4 separate regions of the Homo sapiens genome follow, and all the other regions are linked to region 3. The links are contacts of gene promoters, found by promoter capture Hi-C in human tissues and cell types (Jung and others, 2019). All regions are on one chromosome and are shown on one strand. The core of a region is centred on a gene start or on the middle of the fragment in contact, and the rest is flanking DNA. Distances in the headings are between cores, read along the strand shown.

Evidence for each region. The method cuts DNA at HindIII sites, captures the fragments that hold promoters and counts their contacts. A contact is called where the count stands out against the background at its distance.
Region 1: a fragment that was not itself captured here is called in contact with the fragment with the promoter of TP53INP2 in region 3 in 2 of the 25 tissues and cell types used here (mesenchymal stem cells and spleen).
Region 2: a fragment that was not itself captured here is called in contact with the fragment with the promoter of TP53INP2 in region 3 in 2 of the 25 tissues and cell types used here (mesenchymal stem cells and thymus).
Region 4: a fragment that was not itself captured here is called in contact with the fragment with the promoter of TP53INP2 in region 3 in 4 of the 25 tissues and cell types used here (dorsolateral prefrontal cortex, lymphoblastoid cells, mesenchymal stem cells and 1 more).

What each region holds. Positions count from the first base shown.
Region 1 is chr20:34,468,359-34,471,058 of GRCh38, forward strand. ITCH (itchy E3 ubiquitin protein ligase) reads left to right here. Exons shown (of 25, transcript NM_031483.7): 15 at 1,690-1,762. Among named protein-coding and RNA genes, the nearest start is that of MIR644A, 3.4 kb to the left of the region's middle. The HindIII fragment of the contact is 6,936 bases long and covers 1-2,700 here.
Region 2 is chr20:34,833,331-34,836,030 of GRCh38, forward strand. It overlaps the pseudogene HMGB3P1. Among named protein-coding and RNA genes, the nearest start is that of NCOA6, 9.0 kb to the left of the region's middle. The HindIII fragment of the contact is 6,602 bases long and covers 1-2,700 here.
Region 3 is chr20:34,702,927-34,705,626 of GRCh38, forward strand. It overlaps TP53INP2 (tumor protein p53 inducible nuclear protein 2), which reads left to right and starts at 1,418. Exons shown (of 5, transcript NM_021202.3): 1 at 1,418-1,586; 2 at 2,432-2,548. LOC105372599 (a long non-coding RNA gene) reads right to left here and starts at 1,256. Exons shown (of 2, transcript XR_936690.3): 1 at 1,211-1,256; 2 at 733-887. RefSeq lists a silencer at 1,214-1,693. The HindIII fragment of the contact is 10,895 bases long and covers 1-2,700 here.
Region 4 is chr20:34,450,000-34,452,699 of GRCh38, forward strand. The region is part of intron 12 of ITCH (itchy E3 ubiquitin protein ligase); the gene reads left to right. Among named protein-coding and RNA genes, the nearest start is that of MIR644A, 15 kb to the right of the region's middle. The HindIII fragment of the contact is 3,166 bases long and covers 1-2,700 here.

The DNA.
Region 1 (2,700 bases), core at 201-2,700, 230 kb before region 3:
AATGTAACAAAAGCTTACAGCCAACATCACAATTAATGATGAAATACCGTAGAACATCAAGAGTAAGACAAGGATATCTACTGTCATTACTTCATTCAACATTGTGTCAGTATTCCTACCCAGTGCAGTGAGATGAGAAAAAGAAATACAGGCCGGGCATGGTGGCTCACGCCTGTAATCCCAGCACTTTGGGAGGCCCAGGCAGGCAGATCACTTGAGGCCAGGAGTTTGAGACCAGCCTGGCCAACATGGCTAAACCCCGTCTCTACTAAAAATACAAAAATTAGTCAGTCATGGTGGTGGGCACCTGTAATCCCAGCTACTCAGGAGGCGGAGGCAGGAGAATCGCTTGAACCTCTGGGTCAGAGGTTACAGTGAGCAGAGATTGCGCCACTGCACTCCAGCCTGGGAGACAGAGCAAGACTCCATCTCAAAAAAAAAAAGAAAGAAAAGAAAAGAAATATAAGATGTATAAATTGGAAAGGAAGAAGTAAAACTGTCTCTTTTCCCCTCACACAAATAACGTTTGTATACAGAAAATCATGAAGAATCTAGAAAAAATTACTAGAACTAGTAAGTGAATTTAACAGCGTAACAGAATATAAAGTCAATGTACAAAATCAGTTGTATTTCTACACTGATATACATTGAATTTTTAAGAGGGAGATAATGCAGTGGTATTAAGTCCAAGGCTAGCTGAGAAACCCCATGGTGTCATAGTGATCTAAAATTCTTCTGTCTTTTCTACCATCCTAGAGTATGGTCTCATTCTTCAAAGTGACCTCATGGTCTGTGACAGCTGCTGAAACTTAAGCTATCAGGGTCACACTCCAGGCTGGAATTTGGAGGAAGGGCAAATTATAAACACACACACACACACACACACACACACTCACACACTTTTTAGCTATTTTAGCTGTCTTTTAGAAAATCCTTCCTTTTTTTTTTTAGACGGAGTCTAGCTTTGTCACCCTTGCTGGAGTGCAGTGGTGCAATCTCAGCTCACTGCAGCCTTGACCTCTGAGGTTCAAGTGATTCTCCTGCCTCAGCCTCCCAAGTAGATGGGATTAGAGGCACCTGCCACCACACCCGGCTAATTTTTATAATTTTTAGTAGAGACAGAGTTTCAACATGTTGGTCAGGCTGGTCTCAAACTCCTGACCTCAGATGATCCACCCGCCTCAGCCTCCCAAAGTGCTGGGATTTATAGGTGTGAACCACTGCACCTGGCCAAAAAGATCCTTCTTGAACGTTTCATATGCCACTTTCACTTAGAGACTTAAGTCACATGGCCATATAGAGAAATGTAGTCTTTATTATATGTAGCATTCTACTTAGTTAAATAGCAAGGGTTTTACTTAAAGATAAAGGAGGGAATTGATGTTGGGATAGACAGCATTCTCAGATAGAAACCCCTTTACTTAGCCCTCTTAGATTTGGCAGCATAGAAAAGAAAATCCCACAACAGTAGTTTCAACAAAATCAAAGTTTTTTGTTTGTTTTTTCTGTTACTTAAAAGTATTCTTGGGGAAATATCTCTCAAAAAGCAAAGAATGGTTTTGTTAGGAATATGCTATATTTTTGAATTTGGTTAGTAAGTGCTGAGAGAGGGTGGGATATTTTGCTTTCCTTCAGCATTATCTTTTACAAGCAGCTATATATGTCCTGTTAACCCTTGTTCTTCCTCAGAGACAATGGACCTCAGATAGCCTATGTTCGGGACTTCAAAGCAAAGGTTCAGTATTTCCGGTTCTGGTGTCAGGTTAGTATTGGAACTGTATCTCTGTACTGCCTTAACTTTGTTGTGTTGCTTTATATTACACAGTGATTGTGAAAATACTTAACTCACAGAAAAACAGGTAAAATGGGAAGCATTAGAATCTCTTTCATCTATTTTTAGAGCAAATAAATAGATTTATCAATTAGATCATTTGTGACTTTGGTTATTCAGAAAATTAAACCTCATGTAATCCCAGCACTTGGGGAGGCCGAGGTGGGCAGATCACTTGAGCTCAGGAGTTCAGGACCAGTCTGGGCAACATATTGAGGCCTTACCTCTGTAAATATATATATATATATATTTCTTTTTTTTAAAGAAGAAAATTAAACTTGAAACCATCTGAATAAGCAAACATTGTCACTTTTTCCTCAGTAGCCATTACTTTCAGATTGCAGGAATCTTCAAATGTAAGTAAAAGCATTTTCTGATATAATTTTAACCAGCTACTTTATTTTTATGTGTTATTTTTTCTGAGACAGGATCTCACTCTGTCACCCAGGCTGGAGTGCAGTGGTGCCATCATGGCTTACTGCAGCCTTGACCTCCTGGGCTCAAGTGATCCTCTTGCCTCAGCCTTCTCGCTAGCTGACACTACAGATGCACTTCACCACACCTGGCTAATTTTTAGTAGAGACAGGGTCCCCTTATGTTGCCCAGGCTGGTTTTGAACTCCTGGATTCAAATGATCCTCCTGCCTCATCTTCCCCAAGTGCTGGGATTACAGGCATAAACCAGCATGCCCGGACACCAGCCATTTTTATATCTATCGTTTGATATAACTGACTTTGATAGATAAATACATGTTCATACATACATGAACATGTCCATACATAGATGTTATATTCAGTGTTTTTTTCAGATGTGATCAACTATTTCTTATGTATAGATATTTACTGGAATTAATGATTTTTTATGGGTTC
Region 2 (2,700 bases), core at 54-2,553, 130 kb after region 3:
GTCCAAACAGGCTCAAGCTCTGCAGTGATAAGACTGACAGTGAATACTTCAATGATGTCTTTAAGAAAAACAATAATAAAACAGGGGAAAAAAGAAAGAACAAAACCATCTAGAAAGTGTCAACATTTTACTGTCTGCAGGGTTCGTCACAACAGTGCCAAATGACAAACTTACCACATTTAGTTGGATGAATTTTGCCCTGCAGAAGGATATCACCTTTTTTTTTTATAGGCAAACAGTTTATTTATTCATCCTCCTTCTCTTCCTCCCCATCTTCTTCATCTTCTTCTTCCATCTTTTCCCAGGCAACTTTAGCAGGACCTTTTGTGCCGTCCAACTTTCCTTTCGACTTATAGTCAGCAACATCCTTCTCATACTTCTTCAGCTTTGCCACCTTAGTGACATAAGGCTGCTTTTCACTGTCATTTAAGTTATTCCACATCTCACCCAGCTTTTTTGCCACGTCTCCAATAGAGATGCCAGGGTTTGTGGATTTGATCTTGGGGCAGAATTCTGAACAGAACAGGAAGAATCCAGACAGTGGCCTTTTGGGGGCATTAGGATCGTTCTTGCCTCCCTTAGCTGGTCCATAATCCTTCATTTCTCTATCACAGTGCACTTTATCCGCCTTTGCCATTTAATCGAATTTAGACTCTCTCTCTCTTTTTTTTTTTCTGAGATGGAGTTTTGCTCTTATTGCCCAGGCTGGAGTGCAGTGGCACGATCTCAGCTCACCGCAACCTCTGCCTCCTGGGTTCAAGCCATTCTCCTGCCTCAGCCTCCCCAGTAGCTGGGATTACAGGCGCCCACCAACACGCCCGGCTAGTTTTTTGTATTTTTAGTAGAGACGAGGTTTCACCATGTTGGCCAGGCTGGTCTCAAACTCCTTACCTCAGGTGATCCACCCAACTCACCCTCCCAAAGTGCTGAGATTACAGGCGTAAGCCGCCGTGCCCAGCCTAGACTTCTCTTTCCCAGACATTGTCTTCCACCTCTCAGAGCACTTTTTGGAAAATTCTGCAAAATTGACAGGGACCTCTGGATTTTTCTTATGCTCTTCTCTGCACGTCTGCACAAAGAAGGCAAAAGCAGACATCTTGCCCCTTAGTTTCCTGGGGTCACTTCTAGCCATCCTGACTGTATTGTTCACTAGTCTTGAAGGATATCACTTTTAAGTGGACACCATTCACATGACATTATAATTTGCAAATTTATTATGATAATTTACCAGTAGATGGCAGTAAAATGCCTTGTTATTTCAGAATCTGTTCGTTGTAACAATTTTCAGATATATGGAAATAAAATGCCTTGAGGAGGGGGTCACTTGTGCTTTGCATAAAGACATGCTATGGCGAGGCGCAGTGGCTCATGCCTGTAATCCCAGCACTTTCGGAGGTGGAGGTAGGTGGATTGTGTCAGCCCAGGAATTAGGGACCAGCCAGGGCAACATGGCAAAACCCCGTCTCTACAAAAAAATACAGAAATTAGCCAATCGTGGTGGTGCATCATGCCTGTAGTCCCAGCTCCATGGGAAGCTGAGATGGGAGGATCACTTGAGCCTGGGAAGCAGAGGTTGCAGTGAGCTGAGACTGCACCACTGCACTCCAGCCTGGATGACAGAGTGAGACTCTATCTCAAAAAAAAAAAAAAAAAAGCGGTGGTGGGGTGGGGGCTTACTATGGGCAAGCCATGGCTTGCTCTTCAGGAAAAAAATCATTGAAAAAATAGAAGAAATAGACTAATAATTACACAATTTTAAAAAGTGGAAGAATATCAAGTGACCATACATACACAAAAAGGTGGGGGTGGGGGAGAAAAAAAAAACTGTTTTCAAAAATATTCTGAAATTTTAAAGCTTTTTATTAGAGTATAATATAAAGACATAAAAGTACAGAAATCGTAAGTGTAAAGCCTGTTGAATTTCCACAAAGCCAACACACATGTCTAACAAACACCCAAATCAAGAAATAGAACATTCAGCCCCACAGAAGCCCCTTCCAGTCATTACCCACAGCCCCCAAGGTTAAACAGTATTTTAACTTCTAACTCCATAGATTAGTCTCACCAGGAGTTAAACTTACAGATTCATCTACATTGTTGCATGTAGTTGTAGCATGTTCATTTTCATTGCTGGGTAGCATTTCATTATTTATTTTTTATTTTTTTGAGACAGAGTCTTGCTCTGTCACCCAGGTTGGAGTGCAGTGGTGGGATCACAGGTCACTGCAGCCTTGACCTCCCAGGCTCAAGTAATCCTTCTGCCTCAGCCTCCCTAGTAGCTAGGACCACAGGTGCATGCCACTACACCATGCTAATTTTTGTATTTTTTGTAGAGACGGGGTTTCACCATGTTGCCCAGGTTGGTCTCAAACTCCTGGGCTCAAGTGATCCTCCCACCTCTGCCACCCAGAGTGCTGGGATTACAGATGTGAGCCACCACACCTGGCCAGCATTTTATTGTTTGAATACACCATAATTTATCCATTCTACTGTTAATGAGCATGTGGGTTTCCACTTAGGAGCTATTTTATTTTATTTTATTTATTTTTTTTAGAGATGGACTCTTGCTCTGTCACCCAGGCTGGGGTGCAGTAGTGCGATCTCGGCTCACTGCAACCTTCGCATCCCTGGTTCAAGCAATTCTCTGGCCTCAGCCTCCCGAGTAGCTAGGACTACAGGTGCACGCCACCATGCCCGGTT
Region 3 (2,700 bases), core at 168-2,667:
GCTGACCTAGAACCTCTGGCCCTGGAGATTCTGATATGTGTATTTGTGGTCTCTTCTCGGGCATCTCCCAGGCCACTGGGAGAGCTGGGGCCTAGAGCGTGGGGTGGGTGGAATCCTGAGGGCAGAGAGTGTGGAAGAATCTTACAATGGCAGCTCTAGAGGGAAGCCTGGATATGTTTGTTTGACAAACTGAGACCCAGAGAGGTAACATGACTTGAGGTCACACAGCAAGTCTAGGGCACAGTCAGGACTGAAAGCCAGGACTCTGGGGAGGCTAAAGCGCCCTGAGGTTTAGACCATCTGGTTCATGTAGAGAATGGAGAGGGTCAGGGCTGGGAGCTATGGGTTCAAATCCTGGCTCTGCCATTGACTGTACTTTTGTGACCTAAGAAAGTCACTTGAGCTCTCTGAGTCTGTTTCCTCAACTGTTAAACGGGACAATATCTACCTTTTGGGTTGTTGTGAAGATAAAAAAACACACCCATAGCACAGGTCGTGGCACACAGTAAGTGTGCCAATACATGTCAGCTAGTGGTATGGTGGTGCAATAGTAGGTGCCTAATAAATGTTGAATGCATTGTTGAACATGAGTTCACACGCTAACAGTGAGATTGTGAGACTCAGCTTTCCCACGTGTAAATCAGGACTCATAATCAGTCCCTGTCCTGCCACTTCTTTACAGCCCCGGTAGCAACATAGATTAAATAAGGTATGTAAACGTTCAAGCGCGGAGCCGTCTCAGGTCAATGTTTACTCAGCCCAGGGCAATTCCTCTCCAAGTCCTACTCTGCGAAATTTCACGTCAGCTTCACTAACTTCTCTACATTCCCAGATGCTCCCCGGGAACCGGGGGTTGGGGATGTCCCTCTTTTCTCAAGCCCGCCGAGCTGAGGAAAAACGGGGTGGGAAAGCAGAGTGTGTAAGGCTGAGGAGGTGAGCCAGAGGGGGGAGGGAGAGCAGGAATAAGGGCAGTGGGGAGAATGCAGGTGCACGGACGTGGTGTGGGTCGAGAACAGGGTCCGCATCGGGGGACTTGGATATAGGATGCAGTGAAAGGATTTGGGGAGCAGTGGGAGAGGTGAGGGCGCTGCGATCCGGGAAGAATCAGGAAAATAAGGAGCCGGTAGGAGGGAGTGGAGATCCTCCTCGCGGAGAGCTCGCCGCGGCGCAGGGCTCCCAGCTCCCCGCAGCTGCCTCCCCGAACACTCACCCTCCCGGTTCCGAGAACGTTTCCCGGCCCGAGCGCCCGGCCCGCAAACCGGGAGGGGAGGGGAGGGGAGGGGCAGGGGGGGATCCGCAGCCCGGGATTGGCCGCCGCCCCGCCAGCCGGTGACGCGAGGCGGGCGGGCCCCTTTGTGACGTCACAATCAGCTGTTTGAACGTTCCAATTTGTGCCGTGAGCCCCGCCGCAGCGGCCGCACAGACTCAAAGCCCCGCGGGCGAGCTCAGCAGCCCGGAGCGACCGCGGCCCCGCCGCCTCCCCCGCGAGTCCCGGCGATGCGGCCCGGCCTGTGAGCGGCCGGCGACCCTGGGACGCCCCGCCGCACAACTACCTCAACGCCGTGCCGCCCCCCTCCCGCCCCCAGGTGAGTCCCGACCCGGGTGGGCCTGGGGGCTCCCCTGCCACGGACACGCCCTGCGCCCCCCGCGCCCGGGCCTTTGTCTGTCTCCGCCGGCGGCCGCCGGGGCCGCGTTCCCGGCTCCCGATTGGTTGCCGCACGCCCGGTAGACCATGACGTCGTTCTATTTGCATATGACATTGAGACGTCACCAAGGCCGGTACCGCCCCCACAGGCTCGGGTCGCTTGTCCTCCCGTGACCCGGTAGCCGCTGTGTCGGGGCTGGGCCCTGGGTGAGACGCTGCAATCCAAAGGGGGCTGCAGGGGGATCGGCGATTTCCTAGGCTTATCCAGGGGCTGGGGTCAGGCCTCTGATCCCCTACTTTCTCTTTGCAACCTGAGAAGGAGTCAGACGGCGCTGCTGGGCCTAGGTTGAGGGGGTCGTCAGGAGTTCAGGGCTGCATGGGACTCCAGGTGGTTGGGACAGCACCAGATGGTGGTGGGATCCCCTCCCTCCGGCTCCAGACTCCGCCCCCAGGGACTAACAGAATAACATCCTCCTAATCCCTGATTTGTGTGCAGCGCCTTAGCTGATGTCACTCCTAGACCCAAAATGAAGGGTCTTAGACCCCAGTGCATGGAAGGGGCAACAGGCCCAGAGAGGAGGATTAGCTCTCTCGAGGTCACATAACCAATTAGAGTCATGCTCACTGAGTGACAGATGGATTATTAGCCAGGGGCAAAGACATAATAGGGGCTCAGTACAAGTGGTAAGATACACATCCTCCTTCCACTGGGGACCCGATCTTGGGCTCAGCCTTATCACGGTTTGATAGGCTCCTAGGTGTCCTTACTCCTGGACCCTTTTCCAGGGAATCTCTGGAGATTGGTTCACCTTTTGTGGTCCTGACCCCTTCTGTCCTCACTGTACCTTGAAGTCCTAGAGTCCAATAAAATCGCTGCCTCCCAGCTGTTTGGATCACAGAGAGGTGAGTCATTGGCTGCCTCGGGGTGTCTCCAGGGCTGATGTTGGGGTGGAGGGTGGGGTGAGGGTTCCCTCTATTGGCCCTTTACCTTCCCAACTTCCTAGGTCGTCAGCTAGGAAGGGCCTGACCTGGCCTAGTGCAGACAATTGCAGGTG
Region 4 (2,700 bases), core at 159-2,658, 250 kb before region 3:
TTCCATCAAGATCCACAAGATGATTCTGTATCTTGATTTTGGTAATAGGTGATTACATTAATAATGTATACATGAGATAATGCATAGAACTATATATTTACAGAAATGAATTCAGCTTTTAAACATGGTGAAAATTTAACAATGTTTGTGGTTAACAATAATGTACCAATGCCACTTCTGTGGTTTTGATGCTGTACGTAGTTATATAAGATGTCACCATCGGAGAAAAATGAAGTATATGTGAGACTTTTTGTGCAATTTTTTACATCCTGTGAGTAATAATTAATTCAAAATAAAAAGCTTTTTAAAAAATTGTAATCACATTGGTTCTCCTAAAACAAGGTTCAGAGTTTGGTTAAGTTGGCATTATCTGATAGAAGAGTGGAAGGAGCACATGTGAAGGTGTCAACTTCATGCCCTACACCATGGAGCTCAAGAGCATGTGCTGTTATTGAGTATATCTGATACCTTAGTTATTAAAATAGACCTTAATAGACTTTAAGCTGGACCTACCCTACTAGGTTCTATTTTATAGTGTTATGTAATACTCACAGCATTATATAGCAAGGTTTCAGAATAAAGATGGCAGTATAGAAAGTTTTGCATAGAAGCAAGATAATAATATATTATAATAGAAAGTGGAAAACAACATAAAGCCCATTGTGGAACCAGAGTTTTGTCTTCAAGAGCTGAAGATACTTCATAATATTGGGATAAATTCAGAAAGTGATATTTCTAGATTGGGAAAAGTTGGTCCCCAAGATACATTGTTCTAGCAGTACTGAGTTATGGAGAAAAAATGTTGGTGTGTCAAGATCACATGAGTCTGGTTAATAAATGCTACTGGGGGTATAAGCTTTTCTTTGAGAAATCTCATTGCTCTTATTTAAAGGTATCTATTCTCAAAACACTTCTGTGAGTCAAAAAGGTAAAAAATGTATTAGGCTATACATATAACTGTTACTGTTATTAGCTTATAACAACAGGAGGACATATGAAAGTTGTGGGCCCGATGCAGTGACTTACACTTATAATCCTAACACTTTAGGAGGCTGAGGCAGGTGAATCGCTTCAGTTCAGGAGTTCAAGACCAGCCTGACCAACATGGTGAAACCCTGTCTCTACTAAAAATACAAAAAAATTAGGTGGGCTTGGTGGCCCGTGCCTGTAATCCCAGCTGCTCAGGAGGCTGAGGCAGGAGAGTCACTTGAACCCGGGAGGCGGAGGTTGCAGTGAGCCAAGATCGCGCCATTGCACTCCAGCATAGGCGACAGAGCGAGACTCCGTCTCAAAAAAAAAAAAAAAAAGAAATTAGCCAGGCATGGTGGTGCTTGCCTATAGTCCCAGCTACTCTTGAGGCTGACGTGGGAGGATCGCTTGAGCTTGGGAGTTTGAGGCTTCAGAGAGTCGAGATCACACTATTGCACTCCAGCCCGGGTGAGAGAGCAAGACCCTGTCTCAAAAAAAAGAAGAAAGCAAGTTGTGAATTTCTGTCTTTACCAAAGCTTGGCAGCCTGGAGTTAAGGAGTCCTCTGTCTCTACTGAAGCCTAAGAGTGGTCAGTGAATGGTTAGTATGAAGTACTTTAGAAGAGGGGATGTTGCCCTTACAAGGCATATTAAACTTAACCTGTCAGATTGCATTCCCAGACATGGATGGTTTTATTTCTAGAGTTTCCCAGCTTTATTTCTAGAGTTGTATGTCTTATGTTAGAGAAGGAGAAAAAAACTCATGCACTAAAATGATATATCCAAAGGATATGTATTTATCCTCTTAATTTTATTGCAGGCCAGGCATGGTGGCTCACACCTGTCATCTCAGCGCTTTGGGAGGCTGAAGTGGGAACATTGCTTGAGCCCGGGAGTTGGAGATCAGCCTGGGCAACATAGCGAAAACCTGTCTCTATAAAAAAATACAAAAAATAATCTGGGTGTGGTGGAACACCTCCTAATCCCAGTTTCTTGGGAGGCTGAGGTGGGAGGATCACCTGAGCCTGGGAAGTCAAGGCTGCAAGTAGGCCAAGATTTTGCCACTGTGCTTCAGCCTGGGCAACAGAGTGAGACCCTGTCTCAAAAAAAAAAAAAAAAAAAAAAAGTTGCAGAAAAACTATGACCTGCTTCATGGTTATGGTCAGAAACAAAACTGTTTTACTCCTTCTCTAGGGCAGGTGTAGAAAAAAATGCCTCTTGCTTATAGAAAGCTGAATTGTGAGCTGCGTTTCCTTTATCAGAAAAGTCTTTCCTGCAAGTTGGTCCTTGCCTTCTGTATTCATCATTTTCTTTATCATCCAGATCTTTCTCATTTTTACTTTAGCCAACAACACTTTGCTAAAATACTGTGTTAAAGATCCAGCTTAGCCAGGTTATTAGAGTCTTGTTCTGCTATTTTACAGTCTGCTTATTTTTAGGTTTCACATTCCTCATGTTGAAGTAGTGCTACAGATGTTTATGATTATCCTACTCAGACTGAGCACTGCTTTATGACTTGCTGCCTTTGGGGCATATACCTTACTTGTAGAACCAGTGACAGCACTGGTAGTATATCAGATGAAGCAACCCACCCAACATACCTTCAGGATTGACCCAGGTTGATAGAATCCCATCTTACAGCTTGCACCCTTTCAGACTTTTATATGCTGGGACTAGACATTCCTACCTCATAGGCTCAGTGAATAATTGGTTTTTTAGAGATGGGGGTCTCC